Linked DNA regions of Homo sapiens: regions 1, 3, 4, 5, 6 and 7 are each linked to region 2. The links are contacts of gene promoters, found by promoter capture Hi-C in blood cells and fetal thymus (Javierre and others, 2016). All regions are on one chromosome and are shown on one strand. The core of a region is centred on a gene start or on the middle of the fragment in contact, and the rest is flanking DNA. Distances in the headings are between cores, read along the strand shown.

What was found. Contacts are between HindIII fragments. The CHiCAGO score rates a contact against its expected background, and 5 or more counts as called.
Region 1: a fragment that was not itself captured here is called in contact with the fragment with the promoter of ZNF397 in region 2 in 5 of 17 cell types (total B cells, total CD8 T cells, activated CD4 T cells and 2 more); the score reaches 7.9 in total B cells.
Region 3: a contact is called between a fragment that was not itself captured here and the fragment with the promoter of ZNF397 in region 2, in 2 of 17 cell types (erythroblasts and total B cells). The highest score is 5.2, in erythroblasts.
Region 4: a contact is called between a fragment that was not itself captured here and the fragment with the promoter of ZNF397 in region 2, in 1 of 17 cell types (endothelial precursors). The highest score is 5.4, in endothelial precursors.
Region 5: a contact is called between a fragment that was not itself captured here and the fragment with the promoter of ZNF397 in region 2, in 1 of 17 cell types (megakaryocytes). The highest score is 6.9, in megakaryocytes.
Region 6: a fragment that was not itself captured here is called in contact with the fragment with the promoter of ZNF397 in region 2 in 1 of 17 cell types (erythroblasts); the score reaches 5.4 in erythroblasts.
Region 7: a contact is called between a fragment that was not itself captured here and the fragment with the promoter of ZNF397 in region 2, in 3 of 17 cell types (total CD4 T cells, total B cells and erythroblasts). The highest score is 5.6, in total CD4 T cells.

Annotation. Positions count from the first base shown.
Region 1 is chr18:35,591,900-35,595,041 of GRCh38, reverse strand. All of the region lies in intron 1 of GALNT1 (polypeptide N-acetylgalactosaminyltransferase 1), which reads right to left. Among named protein-coding and RNA genes, the nearest start is that of MIR3975, 1.7 kb to the right of the region's middle. RefSeq lists an enhancer at 2,651-2,770. The HindIII fragment of the contact is 3,207 bases long and covers 111-3,142 here.
Region 2 is chr18:35,239,393-35,242,443 of GRCh38, reverse strand. It overlaps ZNF397 (zinc finger protein 397), which reads right to left and starts at 1,410. Exons shown (of 4, transcript NM_001135178.3): 1 at 1,335-1,410; 2 at 1-53. RefSeq lists a silencer at 1,229-1,358 and enhancers at 1,148-1,673, 1,619-1,728. The HindIII fragment of the contact is 1,449 bases long and covers 828-2,276 here.
Region 3 is chr18:35,641,775-35,644,768 of GRCh38, reverse strand. The region is part of intron 1 of GALNT1 (polypeptide N-acetylgalactosaminyltransferase 1); the gene reads right to left. Among named protein-coding and RNA genes, the nearest start is that of MIR3975, 52 kb to the right of the region's middle. The HindIII fragment of the contact is 2,145 bases long and covers 650-2,794 here.
Region 4 is chr18:35,701,169-35,704,168 of GRCh38, reverse strand. It overlaps GALNT1 (polypeptide N-acetylgalactosaminyltransferase 1), which reads right to left. Exons shown (of 12, transcript NM_020474.4): 10 at 1,174-1,272; 11 at 526-660. All of the region lies in intron 2 of LOC105372064 (a long non-coding RNA gene), which reads left to right. Among named protein-coding and RNA genes, the nearest start is that of MIR3975, 110 kb to the right of the region's middle. RefSeq lists an enhancer at 770-1,064. The HindIII fragment of the contact is 667 bases long and covers 1,037-1,703 here.
Region 5 is chr18:34,865,655-34,868,682 of GRCh38, reverse strand. The region is part of intron 17 of DTNA (dystrobrevin alpha); the gene reads right to left. Among named protein-coding and RNA genes, the nearest start is that of DTNA-AS1, 100 kb to the right of the region's middle. The HindIII fragment of the contact is 3,379 bases long and covers 1-2,957 here.
Region 6 is chr18:35,723,647-35,726,396 of GRCh38, reverse strand. The region is part of intron 1 of LOC105372064 (a long non-coding RNA gene); the gene reads left to right. Among named protein-coding and RNA genes, the nearest start is that of MIR3975, 130 kb to the right of the region's middle. The HindIII fragment of the contact is 295 bases long and covers 1,128-1,422 here.
Region 7 is chr18:35,610,914-35,613,923 of GRCh38, reverse strand. The region is part of intron 1 of GALNT1 (polypeptide N-acetylgalactosaminyltransferase 1); the gene reads right to left. Among named protein-coding and RNA genes, the nearest start is that of MIR3975, 21 kb to the right of the region's middle. The HindIII fragment of the contact is 532 bases long and covers 1,491-2,022 here.

The DNA of each region.
Region 1 (3,142 bases), core at 465-2,964, 350 kb before region 2:
AAGGCACCATCTAGCCTCCCCTAATGAGTTGATTTCAACACTAGAGTTACCATCTTCCTCCCCATTTCCAAAGCTCACCTCAAACCTCTGTTAGCAGCAACATCCAAGCTTATAGTCCCCATTGGCCTCAATCCTGATTTGTCCTCTGTCTCGAGTCTCAACACCAACCTGCCTGTCTATACCTTAAACTACTCTTCAGCCAAAACCAAACCCAGGCATAAAATACACCACCATCATGGTCTCCTGACCACTGGGGCTTAGGTTCCCTCACCCCTGCCAAACTTGTTCTTCTCCGTCTGCAGGAAGTTGCCTCCTAGTACACTTAACCAGCCTTCTAGTTTAATGTGCTCAGCTTCCAACACAGAAGTCATATTACCTTTGTAATAAGGTACTCTTTGACACACAAAAAATCCCTCACTTCATTGGACCTTTCAGCCTTACATACAATCTCTAACCCTCAGTAAGTTCTACTCTTCACTTTTTCTGCTTCAACTTCTAGGATAGTGGCATTAGAAAGTTCTGAAACACTGGCAAGGTCCCCTGTAAACCTACACTAACTAGCCAGACCAAGCCTTACTATTCTTTACAGCTCCTCTCCTGGACCCCCTCTCTCACCCTCTACCTTCCCTTGTGCACATCCTCAGACCAGCCAACATAGTCCTTGCCTCTCTACAGAGAAATCCCACCTCATCAGACCGGAGTTCCTTCCACCTCACTTTTACCTCACACTCCCTTGTTCCTCTGAGTTTTTTCTCCTTTTTAAGGATAATACTCTTTATTTGTACACTTAATTACATTCCTTTTCAAAGCCTTAGAAGCCTTGCTCCACAAATAACTCCTCTTCTCTTTCACATTCACCAACCAATGCCATCAGCCCTTTCTCCCAAGGTAACTTTCAGGCAAAGTTATGCCAGAGACAAGGGTTTTGTCCCCTACTCCTGCCCCCGCCCCCCGCCCAAAGAAAAGATTTAAAAACTGATTTAACTGCCAAAATCAGGACATTGCACTTGAAAAATCAAGATTTGTATTATAGGCTGGGCACGGTGACTCACTCCTGTAATCCCAACACTTTGGGAGGCTGAGGTGGGTAGATCACCTGAGGTCAGGAGTTCAAGGCCAGCCTGACCAACATGATGAAACCCCCGTCACTACTAAAAATACAAAACTTAGCCAGGTGTGATGGCACGTGCCTGTAGTCCCAGCTACTCAGGAGGCAGAGACAGGAGAATAGCTTGAACCCGAGAGGCGGAGGTTGCAGTGAGCCCAGATCGCGCCACTGTACCCCAGCCTGGGTGACAGAGCAAGATTCCATCTCAAAACAAAAAAGACTTGTATTCTAGCTTCTCTGGTTTAAAAAAAAAAAATTATCTGCCACCACTGACTGAGCATACCCAAAGAGCAAAATCCTAGTAGGTGATTAGCTGCCCTCTTGCAATGGGGTGCTTGCCATCTCCAGTCACCACAGTTGACCTTCCTTGTCCCCCGTCACCCCTCAGTGACTCTCATATACCTTACTACCCTGACTCAACATAACCTACGACCTACTAATAATAGGTTCTGCTCCTTCCTATCCTAAAAACCACTTGCCTCAACTACCCCGAATGCAAGCTACAATCTCCTCCTTTCTCCTCTCCCAAATACTTCCTCAGGGAATGGTCTACATTTGCTGTCACTCCTATCCCCTGGTAATAGATTTCTGCTCTTCCGCCTCTGCTAAAACTACAGAGAGCAGAGAAAGAATCTTTTCACCCTCCTGCCTGTTCAGCAGCACTGGACATCAGCAACTGTCTTCTTTATAAGGCCTCCTCTATTGGTTTCCTGACTCTGCCCTCTCTAATCCTCCTAATGAGGAAATCACGTAGACCTCCCTATGGTTCAACACCTGAAAACACCTCCGTGTGCCACATAGATTTCTTCAGTGCTTCCTCCTCACAAGTCCCAGACATGCAGCATCCTCCTTCTCCCGTGGAACCCTGCCCACAGCCTCCCACGTCTTGCAACTCCTCTCAAGGAAAAACAACAACAACAACAGGAAAACAACCTCAGTATGAAGACAAGTACATTGATTTATTCAACATTTACTGATCACTTTTCAGGTGGTAGGCAGACCAGTAAGAGAAGGTCCTTATCCCTACATAAGGGATTCACAGTCTAAAAGGGGCAAGGATAAACAGAGAGGGGTAACATGATACATATGATGATAAAGAAAAACAAAGGTACTAAGGTGAAGGCCAGAAGAGCTTGCTGAGACAAACACCAGAGCCTGATCCCCAGCCTCAGACATATCCACTACCACCATTTAGTCCAGGCCTCCTGCAAGAGCTTCCCAACTGATCTCCATGCCTCCCCTTTACCCATCCCACCCTCTCACCCAAATCCATTCTCCACACTGCAGCAGGGGTGATCTGCTTAAAATCAGGAGCAGAGCTTTCTCCTACTCAAAACCTTTCAACAGCACTGAGAATGAGGTCTTGCATCAGCTATACCATGCCAATTTTCCTACCTTCATCTCACCCCACCCCCATCCCTTGCACCAATGGCCCTTCAGCCACACTGGTATTTCAGTTCCTTAAACAGAATGAGTCCTCTTTGCTACACAGTCTCTGTGCATAGCATTCTTTTTTACCAGAATCCTCTTGCCCATACTCTTTGTATTATTAAAATCTTTTTGACCTCTGGGTCTCAGCTGAAATGTCATTTCTCCCATTGTTTACTTAATTGTTTCTATTTTTATCTTCCTCATTAAATTGTATGATCAACAAAGACAGGATCTATGTCTGTTTAGTTCCCATTGTAGTCACAGTGCCTGGCACAAACAGATACTCAATAAATATGTGCCCAGTGAGGATGTAAAAGTCACTTTCCTCATCCGGGCCCGTAACTGTAAGTATCCCCTCAGGTTTATTCCTCAGCCCTTTCTACCACTCCCTGTTTTCATCATTTCAATGCTGATGATGCTCATCTGCACCTCCAGACCTGACCTCTCCCAACAAGATGCAGTGCTCCAACTATGAAGCCTACAGGACAGTTCCACCTGGAATCCTTCTCTGACACCTGCAACTGGATATGTACCAAGACACATTCATTAACTCTTCTCAAACTCTGTTTTTTTCCATTGCTGTTAATGGTGACACCCCTTACA
Region 2 (3,051 bases), core at 161-2,660:
CTCAGTACAACTGGTTCTGTGCTTGCGAAGGAGTGTGAGTAATCTCTTCTTTCCTGAAGGATATAAAAGCAGTTAACTTACAGCAATCAATAAAATCTCTAAGTACTTGTAATAAGAAAGATGAGTAACTTTAGTAATATATTGAAAGGGAGTAGATTTGGGGCTATCACTAAATAAAACAATAATGTGATGATAAACTAAAAATCATTAACCTCAATTAGTGTCTCCCATTATGAAGAATTCCTACCACTAATGTTAGAAAAAACTATTTTAGAAGCCTAAGAATGTGAATGCAACATTAACATCAATCACATAGTGAGAAAATTTCCTTTCCAATTCTTTCAATTCTGATTGTATCAAGGAGAAAAGTCTATCTTTAACATGTATGTATTAATAAAACTTGTAGAACTCTCTTTTAAATAAAATACAGGCTTCAGAATCAGACTTCCAAGAGTAAAAATATTTAGGCAGAATTTAGTAATACTGATTTTAAACATTTATTTTTACTTACTTTCTATCTAAAGCAAGTAATGTTGATTTTCATTTAAGGCAGTAATAACGTTTTTTTAAAAGTTCACATTAAACATGAGTTGATGTAAATATTGGATATTTGTCATTTGATCGCATTTGGTGTTTACCGAATTACTTCAACAAACACTGAGGCACTTACTGAGCATTAAGATTTTTGCTTATGAATAAACGAGTCTACAGAGGAATTGACCAAGAACCAAGACGTATCTGTAAAATGCTTACCATGTGTTCAAAAACATGATAGGTATCACATACACAAAAGCAGCAAAGAGATCCGTATCAGTTCTGAAAAAGCTTAGAATATCCCAAGACTAAAAATGTTCAAAAGCAAAATATGGTAACAAATAGGTATTAAATGTTGTGACACAGACCAAACTTGACCTGCTTTTAGGATGGCGAGATATCGATAGGAATGTATGCCCTTAGTTTGTCAGGACAGATGAGTAAAATTCATTCCTCACACTACGGTTAACGTTAAGAGATGAATTAAAATATTTAGCCTACAAATTTAAGGTTTAACCAGTCCGGCCGCACTAACTAACTAACTAACTAGCCCTTCTATTTTTATATCCTTGGTTAAACCGCAGCATTTACGAAGTCACGGGGTCAGCGGAACTGCGTTTTCCTTTGGAAAGCAGGAGTTTGAGTGCTGGCCTCCTCTGAGTTCCCCAGTCGCTTGGAGACGCCGCGCGGGCCAAAGGGCCGCGACCTGGGGATGGGCAGGCCGAGGAGCGGAGCTCCTCCACTGTCCGGCGCGCGCTCCCAACCCCACCTCCCTCTTCCTAGGGGCCCACGTCCCTCACCGCGAAGCCCAGGAGCGGCCAGGAAATGAGCCACCCACCCCGAGCTGCAAGCCACAAAGACCGGAAGTGCGCGTACGCAGTGTTCCGCTCTCGCGCCCTTCGGGTCCTCCGCCGCCCCGCCCCTTGCTCTGAGGTAGCCAATCAGAGCCGCGGGCTCTACAGTTTCCACCGCCTTCTCCCGGTAGCCGCTAGCCCGGCGGAATCTCCAAGGCCAGGGGAGGGTGCGCTAGGAGTCAGGGGTCCTTGTGAGCGGCGGCACCTGGAGGGTCCCGCATCTCGCCTGGGCCGTTCCCACCCTGGCTTTCTCCTGGCACCACCCATCATTGTTGGTCTCAAGTAATTCCCGAATCTCACTCCCAGTTTTCCATTAAAATATTCAGATTTTCGGCCGGGCGCGGTGGCCGAGGCGGGCGGATCACGAGGTCAGGAGATAGAGACCATCCTGGCTAACACGGTGAAACCCCGTCTCTACTAAAAATACAAAAATTTAGCTGGGCATGTTGGCGGGCGCCTGTAGTTCCAGCTACTCGGGAGGCTGAGGCAGGAGAATGGCGTGAACCCGGGAGGCGGAGCTTGCAGTGAACTGAGATGTGCTGCACTCCAGCCTGGGCGACAGAGCGAGACTCTGTCTCAAAAAAAAAAAAAAAAAAAAAACCTCAGATTTTCCTGTGATTCCAGTTCTTTTCCGACAAAAGTAAATGTAAGGATGAATAGGCTGAACAAAAACTAACAGTCACTTATATTGCTTTTGCCTATGAGTATCACTGGAGCCTTACAACAGTTCTGTGCTGTGGCTATATAATCCCAAATTTACAGCCGTAGACATCGCCCAAAGTCAGGCAACTTGTGACCAGGGACGTCCACGTCCCCATAGTTCAAGGAGACTGGTATCGTAGACTCCTGGAGCCTATCTTAGGGTCTTCCCGTTCTTCAGTGGAAGCTTGCTGGTATTGTCTCACTGTTTAAATTTTTCTTTGGCTATTTAGTCGGTGAAAAATGATGCCTCATGTTTCAACTTTGTGAGCTTAAGATAGTCCCCCTTCATGTTTACTGACCATTTATGGTTCTTCAGAGATGGCTTTTCCCATTTAAAAAATTAAGGGAGTAAGATTTTTCTTTTTTATTTGTGAGAATTTTTTGCTTATTAAGGATAGCAACTCGTTTGTTGCAAATCGTTTCCCATTTATTTGTATTTATTTTTAAAACGTTACATTTTACATGTTTAAATGTTACATATTTTTAAAATGTTATATTAAAAAAGTACACAGGATAATAACAAAGCGATACATACATACATAGAAACAAATTCTCCTTTGTGAGCCAAGACTTAAAACACATATTTGAGAAAAATGTTCGTTAGCATTCAAAGCTATTAGTGACTCACTAAATAATTTTATCATTGTGAAATGACTACAGCAATTTTACAAAGCAAAAAACCAAATAATATTAATTTGTTTATAAATTATCAATTGCTTCATAATGAACCACTTCAAGACTTAGTGACTAAAAACAGCAGATGTTTTATTGCTCACAGTTCTGTTGCCAGGAATTCAGGAAGGGCTTAGCGGAGATGGCTAGTCTGCTTTATGATGTGTCAGCTATCTTCACTTAACTGGGGTGGAAGGTCCAAGATGGCTTCACTCAAATTGCTGAAGTCTTGGTGTTGCCTCTTGGTTGAAGTTACTTGATTCTTCTCCACAAGGCCTCTCTCCATTCA
Region 3 (2,994 bases), core at 473-2,972, 400 kb before region 2:
TACGCCCGCCTCAGCCTCCCAAAGTGCTGGGATTACTGGTGTGAGTCACCACGCCTGGCCTGGACTGAATTATAAAGCAGACGTACTTAAAACCATATGGTAACCCAAAACAAATCCATACAAGTGTGAAAAACTAAAAAGATGCTACTACAAAGAAAATTGGTGCAGGGACAAGTGGCTTTCCATATAATTAAAAAATAAACTTGGATCCTACCTTATAGCAATATAAAAGTGAATATGTAGAAAGATAACTGAAGCCAAAATTGTCAAAACCAAGTAGCAGCTATTCTGGCTTACCCCTAGTAGCCAAAGTGAGTACGGCTCCAGTCTCGTAGGCTTCAATTTATATTCCCAGCTTCCTATAAAGTGTTCAGGCCAATACTTCTGCCACAGTTTTTGAGCTGTCAAGTGGTTACTGATCGAAATTTAGCACTGAGAAGCCTTATTCGATAGCCAAAGAAAAAGGAGAACCAATTTTCAGGTCTTGGAATCTTCTTATTCAACATAAGTATTTAACAAAAAATTAGCAAATAATCAATCCAAAATTCCTGCCCAGATTGATGTCCACATTCCATTAAAACCTGGATATTCTCTTTCTGTAGTTATTTCCCGGGTGTTATCTCAAGTTTAGAGGTCAGAAGAACAAGCTTATCATTTGGGGTAGTCATGATGTAAATAAACTCCTATAAAATTTATTGGCTCGAATGTTTCAAATTAGAGAATACAGTGTTTAGTGTCTTGAGTGGAATGTCAGTTTTTAAGATGACAAACTGACTTCCACCAATACCTTTAAAAGTTTATATTTTTCCTGTTTGTAAAGTAATGTATGTTCAAAACAAAGAACCTGGCAAACAGAAAAGCAAAAGATACAAACTCCCTACAAATTTGCATCCCAATGAAACACCAATGGGTTAAATGCCCTTCCAGTCATTCAGAATAGTAGATATGTGTTTTTTTTTCTTTTTTTTTTTTTGAGTCAGTCTCACTCTGTTGCCCAGGCTGGAGTGTAGTGGCACGATCTCGGCTCACTGCAAGCTCCACCTCCCCGGTTCACGCCATTCTCCTGCCTCAGCCTCCCGAGTAGCTGGGACTACAGGTGCCTGCCATCAGCCTCCCGAGTAGCTGGGACTACAGGTGCCTGCCACCACGCCCTGCTCATTTTTTGAATTTGTAGAGATGGGGTTTCACTGTGGTAGCCAGGATGGTCTCGATCTCCTGACCTCGTGATCTGCCTGCCTCGGCCTCCCAAAGTGTTGGGATTACAGGCGTGAGCCACCGTGCCCAGCCAGATATGTGTTATGTTTTAAACCAAGTTTGTAACATCTATTTAGACTCAAGTACTTAATGCCTTAAATGTCCTTATGGGAAGAAGGGAAGGAGACAGGTGTGACTATAAAGTGGTAGGAGAGCTGATCATGCTGTATTTTTATTTTTAACAGGTAATAATATGCTCAACAGACATTTCTAACCCCTCTTCCCACCTCGGCCATGTCTCAGTGCCATGTCTTAGGCAACATCTTAGCGTTAACATCAAAACAGCCCTGATATCCACACAAAGGTGTGACAAAATGCCACACATATTGCTTTACAATTAATACATATGTAACCATTACAAACAGAAGTGGCTGCCGGGCTCATGATTCTGACCCTTAACCTCTCCTCCCCTCCTCAAAAGGTTTCTTCTGGTAACAGATCCAGTTGCCTGGCCACAGTATGACCTAGCCAGGCTGACCACAGGACCTGACTCCTTGGCCTGAGTCACAGACCTGGAAGGCTGTGCTCTAGGACTGCGCTCAGTCACACTGCCCCCGACATGGAGAAGGCCACTTGCAGCCAAAAACAATGTGGCCAAGCAGAGACATACAGATGAGTGGCAGAGCACCCTGACAGTGACCAAGTCCCTGACTCTTCCTTGGCTTCAGTGACCCAACGAGGAATCCTATTAGTCCCCTTTTCTGCTTAAGAAAATCTGAATTGGGTTCCTGACACAACCAGAATGCTTGGGGAACCAGGGAAGAGGGGGCAATAGGTAAAAAGCAGCTTCTAGTCTGCTGATGAGCTTCCACTCTGTGGGTCATAATTATATATTATGAGACAGACTATACTATTTGAAAAGATACTTTTTAATGCCCCAGATCACAAAAACTTATAAAATATCAAAAGAGTACGTATAAAACATGTCACGGAAATAAATGATCACAACACAACACACATCTCCACCACCTGGTTTAACAATAAGAACATGATTTTTAAAGTTCCCTCTCAAATCCCATCTCTTCCCCAACTCTTCAAAGGCAATCCCTATTCTTACGGTCCTTCCTTGTCCTGATAATTTAACCTCACGAGTATCTTTAACAATGCCTTATTTATACTTGACTGTTTCTGAAGTGCTTATAAGTGGAAAAACCTGACTTGCTTTTTTCTAACACTGTTTCTGAGATTTATCCATATGCTTGGATCCATCCATGCATCCAATTCCATTTCACTACTGAATAGTATTCCGCTGGCTTAGCAAACCTATTTCTCTACTCTTAACAGACATTTGGGTTCTTTCTAGGTTTCCGTTATTACAAGCAATACTGCTATGACCATTCCTGAACATGTCTACTAGTACGCATGTGCAAGAGTATTTATTTAGAGAAGAGGTCAGTAAATATTTTCTGCAAAGGGCCAGATGATAAAGATTTCAGGCTTTTTGAGTCATGCAATGTCTGTTGCAACAACTTAACTCTAGTGTTGTACCATGAAAGCATCTGTAAGAGGTACATAAATGAATGTGACAATATTCCAAGCTTATTTTTGGACACCAAAATTTGAATTTCATATAATTTTCACACTATAAATTACAAAATATTATTTTTTTTAAGCACTTAAAAATGTTAAAAACCATTCTTAACTCATGAGTCATCACACCGACCCCTGATCTAAAGTATATACGTATGGTTGTTAGGTGGCACAGTATGCATATTTTCAATATGATCAGATATCACCAAT
Region 4 (3,000 bases), core at 121-2,620, 460 kb before region 2:
AGGTTTACCACGGATGCTTTAATTGAACTAATACCTTTTAAGTACTTCCATGTGAGCCCATTTGATGGTGGTGGAGAGAAAGGTTCCAGACAAAAGGAAAGATAAATAGGAAAGGTTCTGTCATATATGTCACTGGGAAATCATCACAAGCCAGAGAACTTTATTAATTAAAACTTATCTTTCACTGAAGTGTTTAATTAAGTAATTTTAAAAGCCTACTTTCTGCCTCATTTCTCCCAAACTAGACTATAGAACTTGAAGACATACAGAAGGAACAGTGGCTACTCAGTAAACAAGGACCCAGGGATTGGAGGCAACTGTGATTTTATAAGACTAAAATTTAATTATTAGGGAGATTAAAACACATTTATTTTACTTATTTTTCCCGCCTGTCAATATTTAGTGTATAAGACAAGTTTGATCCATATTCAAGGTCCACAAGAACTCATTCCTTTAGATATAAAGTATATAAATATACCCAGTGACACACATAATTTTATTACTATAGGCAACTGCATAACTTACCACTGGGTCATACTCCCAGAGTTGGTTGCCTTTTAGGTGGTGGCATTTGAGCATTGTAACTGGGCCATTAAGTTTGGAAACATCCAAGCAAAGGTCATCTGTTCTAATTTCTTTGTTGGCAGTATAAGAGAAAACCTGGAAATAAAAATGCACACACATAAACAGAAAAAATAAATTAGTCAGCATTTTAAATGCCCAATTAGCTGTCAGGGAAAATACAAGTATTTCAAGGTACATGATTTATGTACTTTATTAAAGTAATGAAGAATAAAGTGACTCAGAAAAGCTACCACTAATTTACATTGATGTTATGTTACTCATTTTCTTGCTTACAAGCTGAAGCAAAAATGACCTTGAGCTCTCTGTATACACTGAATGTATTGTCAAGGGTTGTCATCTGTTTGAATAAAAAGGGCAAAATAAATTTTGTGCTCAGCAATGTAAACATAGTTCTCACAATGGGCCTTTCACAAATGTTTCATTAAAAAAAAAAATCACTGGATTGAAAGCTTCCTTCACCTAAAAGTCTTTATTATTTTCTCTTTAAAGGAAGGAAAATATTTCCTGAATGATGTCATGGTATAAAAAAAAGGCAAAGTAAAAACAATCTGAAAATTATCCCTTTTAAGAGTTTTCTAAGATACTCACCTGATTACCCCCCATACCATGGCAATTAAAAATTCCAACTTTTTCATTCTCTTTTCTAGCCATGTTATCTAGACACTGATTCGTTTCCACATTTCGTATCTATGGGACAATAAATAATGAAAATATCAGGAGTTGGAGAAGTTAATTAGACAGACAGATACACACACATATACACTAAATATCAACCTAAACTTTCCCTGGCCCTACTCTGAAATGGCCTATTGGCCTATCGCTGTCTGAGTATCTAAAATTCATTGGTCTAGAAAGGTCTTACAACTGTTTATGTAATTTTCTGTGTTTATGGGGGAAAATCCTTACAATTTCTTTTTTCATTTTTTTCAAGTTATTCCTTTCAAATTTGTATTGAGTTCAACAAACTCTACTTTGGTTAATGATTTAAAAAATTAACTCCCTGATGACACTATTATCAATCAAGACAAGAACATTAATTCTGATAACTACTCTGATGACTTAGGAGAGACTAAGATGACTCTAGTCAAAGAGCTTGGAACTTGTCTTACCTGGAAGCTTAAGCATAGTGTGGTACAAACTCTACTCTTTCACTAGACATTTGTGGATTACATAAAAGGAATTTAAGTCAGTCATCAGAATTAGGAGGAATATTTTAGGTAATGCCCCTTGATATTTTGTTTCCTCTAAACTGTTGCAGTTTTAAAAGCATATGGTAAATTAACAGATGTTTGAAAGTCTTAAATCTATTCCTATGTACGGTACTGTCAGCAGGTTAAGCCAGAAGAGAAACTACATCTGTCATGTCATGTAGACTTTTTAAAAAAGGTAACTAATTTTGTGTGATAGATAAAGTAGGGGTAAAGTTAAAACCACAAAAAAGCCAGTTACTTCTATAAACACATATACAGTCTGCATATTATTCCAATATTCCCAAGCAGCCAGGAATAAAAACCAGGGTTCTGACATAGAAGACTCAGGTTTAAATACAAGTTACCTAAACCTTTTGAGATCAGGAACTGGGGGGGTAATGTCAGTTCTATGCTAATGTCAGTTCTGTGCTGATGCTATGTAAGACAATGTATCCAGGCACCTAATTCAGAGTCCAGCATGAACAGGCTCAGAGACAGTAATAATCTGCACTGTCACTTTATCACTAGTCACATCCATCTTGCTATTCCACCAAAATCTCAAACTCGGTTCGTTCAAAACAGAATTTCTCAATTTTCTAATATGAACACTTAATCATCTTCACATTTTAATACGTCCCCACCCCATCCCCTCTTGAGAAGTGCTACCTAAAACAAACCTCATTATCATTTCTCCAAAATTTCCCGTTTTCCTGATATCCCTATTTTTATTACTATTCCCACAACTTGTCCAATTATTCAAGCTAGAAATTTCAAAATGTTTTTTTCTCAGGGTCCAATACATTATATGTTTCCAAGAGTTCTTTTACCACATAATTTACATCATCATTTTTTATCCATTAATTGTGAAACCTATTCCCTCATAAATAGGTTGTGTTAGGTTGTATAAAAGATTTTATGGTAAAATACCAATTTGCATAAAGCACACCTTCCTTCATCCTGGTAGGTGATCAATTAATACCAGACGATGATGGCTATCTCACTTGAAAAAGAATTTCGCTCAGATTGGGCCAATCACAGTGACCCATGTCTATAACCCGAGCACTTTAAGAGGCCAAGACAGTAGGATCGCCTGAGCCTAGGAGTTCAAGACTTGCAACATAGCAAGACCTTGTCTCTACAAAAAATAAAAATACAAATCTTAGGCATGGTGGCTCACGCCTGTAGTCCCAGTTATTCGGGAGGCTGAGGTGGGAGGATCACTTGA
Region 5 (3,028 bases), core at 19-2,518, 370 kb after region 2:
ACAATGTAAGTAGAAATTATATATGCCAGTATAATAAAACACTACATTGAACCACACAGACTTATGATAAAGCAAGTAGAGGTTATTAAATCCAGCACAATTTGTTGTGTGGGGGTGTTCTAAGTTTGGTTTTACAAAGACAATGTCCCCAAAGGGGAGAAACACTCATAAATAAAAACAGAATTTAGAAGCAGATGCCAGTCTAAAACCTCTAAATTCTCTCCTTAGATCATGTTTTACCATGAGAAGTCTATATTTGGACAGCATTTGTTTATTTCCTTGCAGAACCGCCTCTATAGGGCTGGGATTGATAAGGTTCTGCTTTTAATTTTGACTGAGGTCAGTATAAGAAACAGCCACATGAAATCTATGACTGCTTTTTTTCCTTTTCTATCGTCCAGTACTCCTATAAAGCTCCCAGTGAAGACTTTCTTTCATATTTTATGCCAACAGAAATTTTGTTCCCCTGAGAAGTGGTATTTCTGTACTGATAAAACCACCGATAATTTTCCTTTTTTTTTTTTTTTTGCTTCATTGCCAGAACATGCAGAGTAACATCCTTGTCCCTTAAGATTAGCATATTCACATTTTATTTTCTTTAGTTTTTGATTTTTCTATTTCAATTTTATGAAGTCACTGTTTATATCTTTTGTTGTAAGCTGCCTCAGGTCCTTTTTGAAAAGAGGCTTGTGTATAAAAGCAAAAAAGATAAATAAGTGAAATAGGCAAACTCTGCCACTACCCAGACGATGTATTGCTGACATCTGGGTGACGTGGGCCCTGGTCCTTGGGTACCGACACCGCAGTACCCGCTGTTGGCCCCCTGAGATGCAGAAGCTGCTGAGGGGCTTGGTGGAGAGGAGCTGGAAGGTGAGGGGGCAGTGGCGCCACCTTGGGGGCACTGCCACAGTTTGGCTCTGTGCATCCATCTGTTTACGAACTTCCTGGTCCATAGGAGCCTTTCAAGATCCTGCTGCCTGGGAAATGGCCTGGAAAGTATCCCCAAGGGAAATGGCTAAAGCAAGGCTGATGACGACAGGATGATTGCCCTCTCTCTCTGCTAGGAGGAGGGAGGTTATAATTGAACCTTATTTCCTTTTTCTATGCACATGCTAAATAAGAGACAGGAGAGGAAAGAAGCCATTTGCAGAGAAGTATCATGAAGAAGGCATTTTTCTTTACCATGATCTAAGTGTATTGGAAATACAATAGCAATACCCCATGTATGCATTCATGGGCAATTATACAGGCTGTATGTGTTATGTGTCCTTCACCCAGGGGGACTGTCTTCTGTTAAAATTTGACTTTAATTTAGTAAAGTAATTTTTTTCACAAAATACAAAATAATGTAATACATTATCTTTATTGTCTGACATTACAGATTGATTTTACACTTTCCTTTTTTACAGACCATGGGAATGAAGGGTAAAAATGTGTCCAGCATTTTCCAAACATTCTTTGTTACACACAAACACACATAATGAATAATAGAAAAGAGCATACAGAAGAAATGAAAGATACGTTGAAATTGGACAGGTTGTGGTTCTAATTGATCCATGGAAATAATGTGAAACTTTTAAATAATGCTAGTGAGTGGGATATATTGTCATACATAGCGTGGTACATGCACTTGAAATTAAAGCTGCTTTTATTTTGCTTCTATTTAATTTAATTTAATTTAATTTAATTTGTTTTTTTTTTTGAGTTTGCTGCTCCCCCTGCTGGCTCTTGAGCCTGACCACAGGTTCAGACAGCTCCAGTTTAGGCTATAAAGTCACAATGCCCCTATTTCCAGAAAAAAAAAAAAGTATGTAATGACCCTCTCGTCTCCCGGAGCCGAAAGGCTCTGGTGCTAAGGAAAAAGCTGAGAGTTACTTTTTAAAAAGAGATTACTGTCAACCAACAGTAAGGATTCTGCTTTGGGGAAGAGCCAAAAAGATGGGACGTGAATAGTCAGTTATGGAGTACAGTCTTTCTCTCACAAAATTGAGCACATTTTGGTGAGCCATGGGGAACAAGGCTCAATAATTGTGTGATGAAAAGGGATTTAATTGCCTGATTTTTATAAAAAGAGGTTTCACAGGTTTTCAGTAAAATGAAACCGAACTGAATACTCACAGTGTGAGTGGGTGTAGAGGTTAGCTTCTGAGTGCTGTGGGTTTTGGGATGACATGAACCTCAGGGTATCTCTAGTGACTGTGGTATCTCTCTGTTAAGAGAAGGGTCTGATCAACAACTTGAAAAGCTAAGACTGGTTTGAAACTTATACCTCTGGGGATCTAAAATGTTTCCAATAAATGACAATTCGTTCCCTTTTCTAAAAGATGTCATAGTTCTTCTTTTGATGTGGATAGTAGTGATAGTTATAAAAAATGCTAAATTTATATATCTCAATTCAAGCACTACATTGAAAAAGAAGCAAATTAGTATGACTTTTTTCTCTTTCCAAACTGAAGCATGAACATACATTAGAGCAAAAGCAATGAGAAAACCGCAGGTCGGCAGGCCCCTCCACTGTTAGTTAAGACCTGCAGTAGGGGACATAACTTACTCCCTGCTTCAGTTCTTCTTCCTACAGAAAGATTGAATCAATAACAGTTAGATTACCCAGGGTTCCAATAAGAGCATGTACACAGTGTGAAGGAACGCAAGATGGGGAAACATCAACACACCTTTGACGGCAGGTCCAGGCCTCTGCCACCTCAGTGACTATCACTCCAAGTCTACTTGGTTATTTGAGACTACAGGCCCATCTCTTTTCTCTGCATGTACAACCATTTTTCAACACAATCCACCTCTCTGTCCTGGTATGTGTACATCTCAATAAAAGGCAGTACTCTGTTAGGCTAGGTTGATACCAACATGGCTGGTGGTGAATAGACTTCTATCCCATAGGGAAAGAGTCATAGCTAATGGTGACAGAAGCAATAGAAACATAGGGGGCAGTTTTCAAAGCTTCCTGTCATTCACTGAGGGGAAAGATAGGTTCAGTCCTTTTCATTTGGTATATTTGGAAAGGGAAGCAGAA
Region 6 (2,750 bases), core at 26-2,525, 480 kb before region 2:
ACTTTTTGTTGTAGGCATTTGGCACTATAAACGTTCCTTTTACCGCTGCTTTAGGTGTATCCCAAAGATTCTACTATGTTGCATCTCTATTTCCATTAGTTTTAAATGATTTTTTTGATTTCTGCCTTAGTTTCATTCTTTACCCAAAAGTTATTCAGGAGCAAGTTGTTTAATTTCCATGTAATTGTGTAGTTTTGAGAGATCTTGGTATTGACTTCTATTTTTATTGCACTGTGGTCTGAGTGTGTGGTTGGTATGATTTCGATTTTTTTGAATTTATTGATACTTGCTTTATGGCATGTAGTCAGTCTTGGAGTATGTTCCATGTGCAGATGAGGAGAATGTATATTCTGTAGTTGTTGGATGGAGTATTCTCCAGATGTCTATTAGGTCCAACTGGTCAAGTATTGAGTTTAATTCCAGAATATATTTATTAGTTTTCTGCCTCAATGATCTGTCTAATGCTGTCAGTGAGGTTTTGGGTTTCCCACTATTATTATGTGGCTAAGTCTCTTCATAGGTCTATAAGAACTTGTTATGAATCTAGGTGCTCCAATGTTGTGTGTGTATATATTTATGATAGTTAAGTACTGCTGAATTGAACCCTTTATCACTATGTAATGCCCTTCTTTGTCCTTTTTTTATCATTGCTGGCTTCGAGTCTGTTTTTCTGATGTAATAATAGAAACTCCTGCTCTTTTTTGGTTTCTGTTTGCATGATAGATCTTTCTCCATTCTTTTAATTTGAGCCTATGGCTGTTGTTACATGTGAGATGGGTCTCTTAAAGACAGCAGACACTTGGGTCTTTTTCTTTTATCCAACTTGCCACTCTATGCCTTTTAACTGGGGCATTTAGTCTGTTTACATTAAAGGTTAATATAGATATGTGAAGATTTGATCCTGTTATTGTTGTTAGCTGGTTGTTATATAGGCTTGCTTGTGTAGTTGCTTTATAGTGTCTGTGGACTATGTACTTAAGTGTGTTTTTGTGGTGGCAGGTATTGTTCTTTCATTTTCATGTTTAGCACTTCCTAAGGACCTCTTGTAAGACAGGTCTAGCGATAATGAATTCCCTTAGCACTTGTGTGTCTGAAAATGGTTTTATTTCTCCTTCACTTAGGAAGCTTAGTTTGGTAAGATATGAAATTCTTGGTTGGAATTTCTTTTCTTTAAGGATGCTGGAAAGCAGGTCCCAACTCTTCTGGCTTGTAAGGTTTCTGCTGGAATGTCCACTGTTCACCTGAAGGGGTTCCCTTTGTAAGTGACCTGTTCCTTCTCTATAGCTGCCTGTAAGATTTTTTCTGAGGTGTTGACCTTGGAGAATCTGGTAACTATGTATCTCAGGGATGGTCATCTTATATAGTATCTCGCAGGGGTTCTCTAAATTTATCGAAGTTGCATGTTGACTTCTCTAGCAAGCTTAGGGAAGTTTTCATGGGCAATATCCTCAAACATGTGTTCCAAGTTGATTATTCTTTTTTCTCTTTCAGGAGTGCCAATTAGTCGTAAGTTTGGTCCCTTTTTATAATCCCATATTTCTGAGGTTTTGTTCATTTTTAAAGGTTCATTTTTTCTTTATTTTTGTCTACCTGAGTTTATTTGAAGGAGGAGTCTTTGAGCTGTGAGATTCTTTCCTCAGCTTCATCTATTCTGTTGTTAATGTTTCCAATTGTATTCTGAAATTCCTGTAGTCAATTTTTCAGTTCCTGGAGTTCAGTTTTGGTTCTTTCTTAAAAAGGTTATACCATCTTTCAACTCTTGTATTATTTTACTGTTCTCCTTGGATTGGGTTTCAACTTTCTCCTGTTTTTTTCTTTTTTATTTCTTTTTTTTTTTTTAGCTTCAACTTTCTCTCTTTTTTTTTTTTTAGCTTCCTTGCTATCTAGATTCTGAATTCTATGTCTGTCATTTCAGCCATTTCAATCTGGTTAACAGCCACTTCTGGGGAGCTTGTGCAATTGTTTGGAGGTAAGAAAACACTCTGGCTTTTAGAATTGCCGGAGTCCTTGTGCTAGTTCCCTCTCATCTGTGAGGGCTGGTGTTCCTTTATCTTTTGAAGTTGCTGTGATTTGGATGGGGCTTTTTATGGTCTTTATTTACCTTGAGGGTTTGACTGTAGTGTAAGTTGAGTATAGTTGATTGGCTTTGTTTCTGGATGCTTTTAGAGGGCCAAGGCTCTTCACAGGATTTTTATTTGTTGCTAGAACACTGCACTGGGTTTCACAGGCAATGAAAGCAGGAAGTATTTTTTGGTGGTGTAATTCAGGCTGCAATCAGTAGATTATGCTTAAGAGTAAGGGCTTGTACATCCCCAGGAAGCTACCAATGACTTTCTTCACAGAATTGGAAAAAAAAACTACTTTAAAGTTCATATGGAACCAAAAAAAGGCCACATTGCCAAGACAATCCTAAGCAAAAAGAACAAAGCTGGAGGCATCACGTTACCTGACTTCAAACTATACTACAAGGCTACAGTAACCAAAACAGCATGGTACTGGTACCAAAACAGAGATATAGACCAATGGAACAGAACAGAGCCCTCAGAAATAATACCATACATCTACAACCATCTGATCTTTGACAAACCTGACAAAAACAAGAAATGGGGAAATGATTCCCTATTTAATAAATGGTGCTGGGAAAACTGGCTAGCCATATGTAGAAAGCTGAAACTGGATCCCTTCTTTACACCTTATACAAAAGTTAATTCAAGAAGGATTAAATACTTAAATGTTAGACCTAAAACCAT
Region 7 (3,010 bases), core at 507-3,006, 370 kb before region 2:
GACTGAGACTACTTTTCACTAAATTCTTGGCTTGGTTGTTTTTTTTTCCCCCACCATTAAGGTAGTATGAACTTCAACCCCAAATCCAGTTAGAGTGGAACTGCAGTTATAATTTTTCGGGGAAGGTTATTTTACCCTTCCAGTGAAAAGCTGAAACAGGCAACCTTGTTCCTATGCTCCCTACCCTATACTTTTCCAACCACTGAGGGATAGGTTTTTTGCTTTTTCCTAGTTAAACCCACTGACAGCTTTCAGGGAGCTTCAGCTTTACACAAAGGTCTCTGGATCTTACTTAGCAACTGCTTGATCCCTAGACACCGTCTGGTACCCTATGGCCACCCTGCAAAAGCCAAAGTTCTGGGTTTTGAAGGACTTACAAATACCAGAACCCTCAGCACGGGAGCCAGTATCACTACTAACTTACCTCCCTGGATTCAAGATTTCTTGTTCTGGGCCTCTGGAAAGTTTCCTTACCTCTTGTCAGCTCAACGATGCATTTAAAAGATATTTTGAATATTAAGTCCAGTATTTTTAACATTTCATAATGTGGGACCTTTTTTTTAACCTCTACTCTGCCACGCTGCCAGAAACAGAAGCCTCTTAAAGTTTTGAATAGTCTGCTGAGTATTTTTCCCCAAAAGAAATGTACATCCACTTCTAGAAGCCAAAGGAAAAGCAATTCATTGAATTAACAAATATATTCTAGGCACTCAGTACGTATCAGTAAACTAAACAAAGATCAATGCATTCAAAGCACTTCTGTAGGAGCAGAGTAGGAGACAGGAAATAATAAACATAAGTAAACTAGATTATAGCACAGAAGGTATTGCAATGGAAAGAAAGAAAAATTGAGTAGTCAGGTAGGGAGGACCATGAGTGCCTGGTGGAGAGGAGCTGCGATCTTAAACAAGGTAGCTATTACTAAAACATTTCTTACTTCCCTATAACATACCACTGATTAATTTTTTTAAACATAAAATTTTAAGAAACTATGGGTACTTTCCTCCTCTCCTGGTGTGAGGTATGATGGAGAGCTGCCTACGGATTTTTTTTTTTTTGAGACAGAGTTTCATTCTTGTTGCCCAGGCTGGAGTGCAATGGTGCGATATTAGCTCACTGCAACCTCCACCTCCTGGGTTCAAGCAATTCTCCTGCCTCAGCCTCTCGAGGAGCTGGGATTACAGGCACCTGCCACCATGCCCAGCTAATTTTTTGTATTTTTAGCAAAGACAGAGTTTCATCACGTTGGCCAGGCTGGTCTTGAATGCCTGACATCTGGTGATCCATGCCTTGGCCTCCCAAAGTGCTGGGATTACAGGCGTGAGCACCACGCCCGGCCTAGAAAGGTTAATACTACATGACTCCATCTACTTCAAAGAAATTGGGGCACACTTTAATATTAATTGGAAATGCTAAAAAATTTATGATGCTATTTGTTCAAAAAAATTAAACAAATATAAAAATAAACACGATAGGCTTAGAGTGAAGCTTTTACTGAAAAAATGGTTAAATTAGCAGACTTATCTTTCACATTTCTAAAGATAATTAGAATTTAATTAGTATCACTATTAGGCAGTTCTTTTGAATTTTAAACCTAATCCAGAAGGCAAATTGTCCAATTATATCTCCTTCTATCTTTCATGGAGATGTACCCTATTTTTAACTCATTAAAACAGGTTTTTTCTCTTTTCATAAGAATCATGTGTGAAGTTATTAAATCACATCTTAAAAATATTTAAATCCAAACCTAAGACAGTATTTTGCAGCCTTATAATTATTTTCATTACTTTTCCCTTTATCTCTCAATTTTTCCTTCTCTTAAAATGTAGACAACAAAGCTAGAGCTCATATTTTATATAAACACTGTGATATAATTACATATAATAAATGATGTCTTTTTTAATGATACAGGTAATAAATAATGATGGTAATGAGGACACTTTATATTGCCTGTCAGATAAAACTCCCAAAGGGCAAGGCCTACAAATTTAGAGACAGGATTTTTGTGTAAAAACAGAAGCTTTGTGGGAAACTTTTGTCAGGATCCTTTTTTCAAGACAAAAAAGATTAGAAACAGTTTTACACAGAAACAAAACAGACTGAGTTAAGAATGTTTCCCAAGGCAGTCAAACACTGCATTTACCACAACAACGTATTACCATTAGCTGGTGGTGGTGCTGCCTAACACAGGGTCCAAGCTCTAGGCAGCCTCTGGCCAGCTGCCATTCCCTCCACTCTCAAGACCATGAGAATTCCTCCTGCATTTGGCACATACAATTAGATTACCAATTCCCAATATTAAACTTCCTCCACATCCTTACTTTTGTCTGATTACATATTGGACCTTGATTGAATTTTATTTTACATACTCTCAGATGTATAAAGAGAGCAAATTGTCTTTTAAAAACCTGAGTTAGATAACATTCGATTACATAAATATTTCTCTAAGGTTGCTGCAAATTATAGCAAATTTTCTTACTGACTTATATAAAATATTAAAAAGCTATTAAATAAAATACCTGAAAGTTAAACTATGGCACAGGGTGGAAAGTCTCTGCAGTATGTTCAACTGCCTCACTTTCTCTCACACAGTATTCCTGCCTTAGAGGTATCAATCCCTTGGCCAATTTAGTAGCTCAGCCAAAAAATGAGAAAAAAAGTGAAAGCATGGCTCCAGGGACCTTCCCCTGCTCCCGAATCCGTATTCCCACCACATATGCACTTTAACCAAAACAGCTCCACCTTTATCTTTTCTATGCATTGGAACTTGTTAGGAGATATTTGAAAATATACTCCTGCTACTAAAAAGTTTGAAAATCATCCACCTACAGCAGCAGTTCTGAAAATGTAGTACAAAGACCCCCACCCTATCCAACTCAAGGGGTCATCAAGACCCTTTCAAGGGGTCTGCAAGGTCAAGACTATTTTTATACTATGCCAAGTCACCATTTGCCTGTTTACTGTCATTCCCTCCTAAGCATGTGGCTGAGGTCCAGAGGCTACATGATAT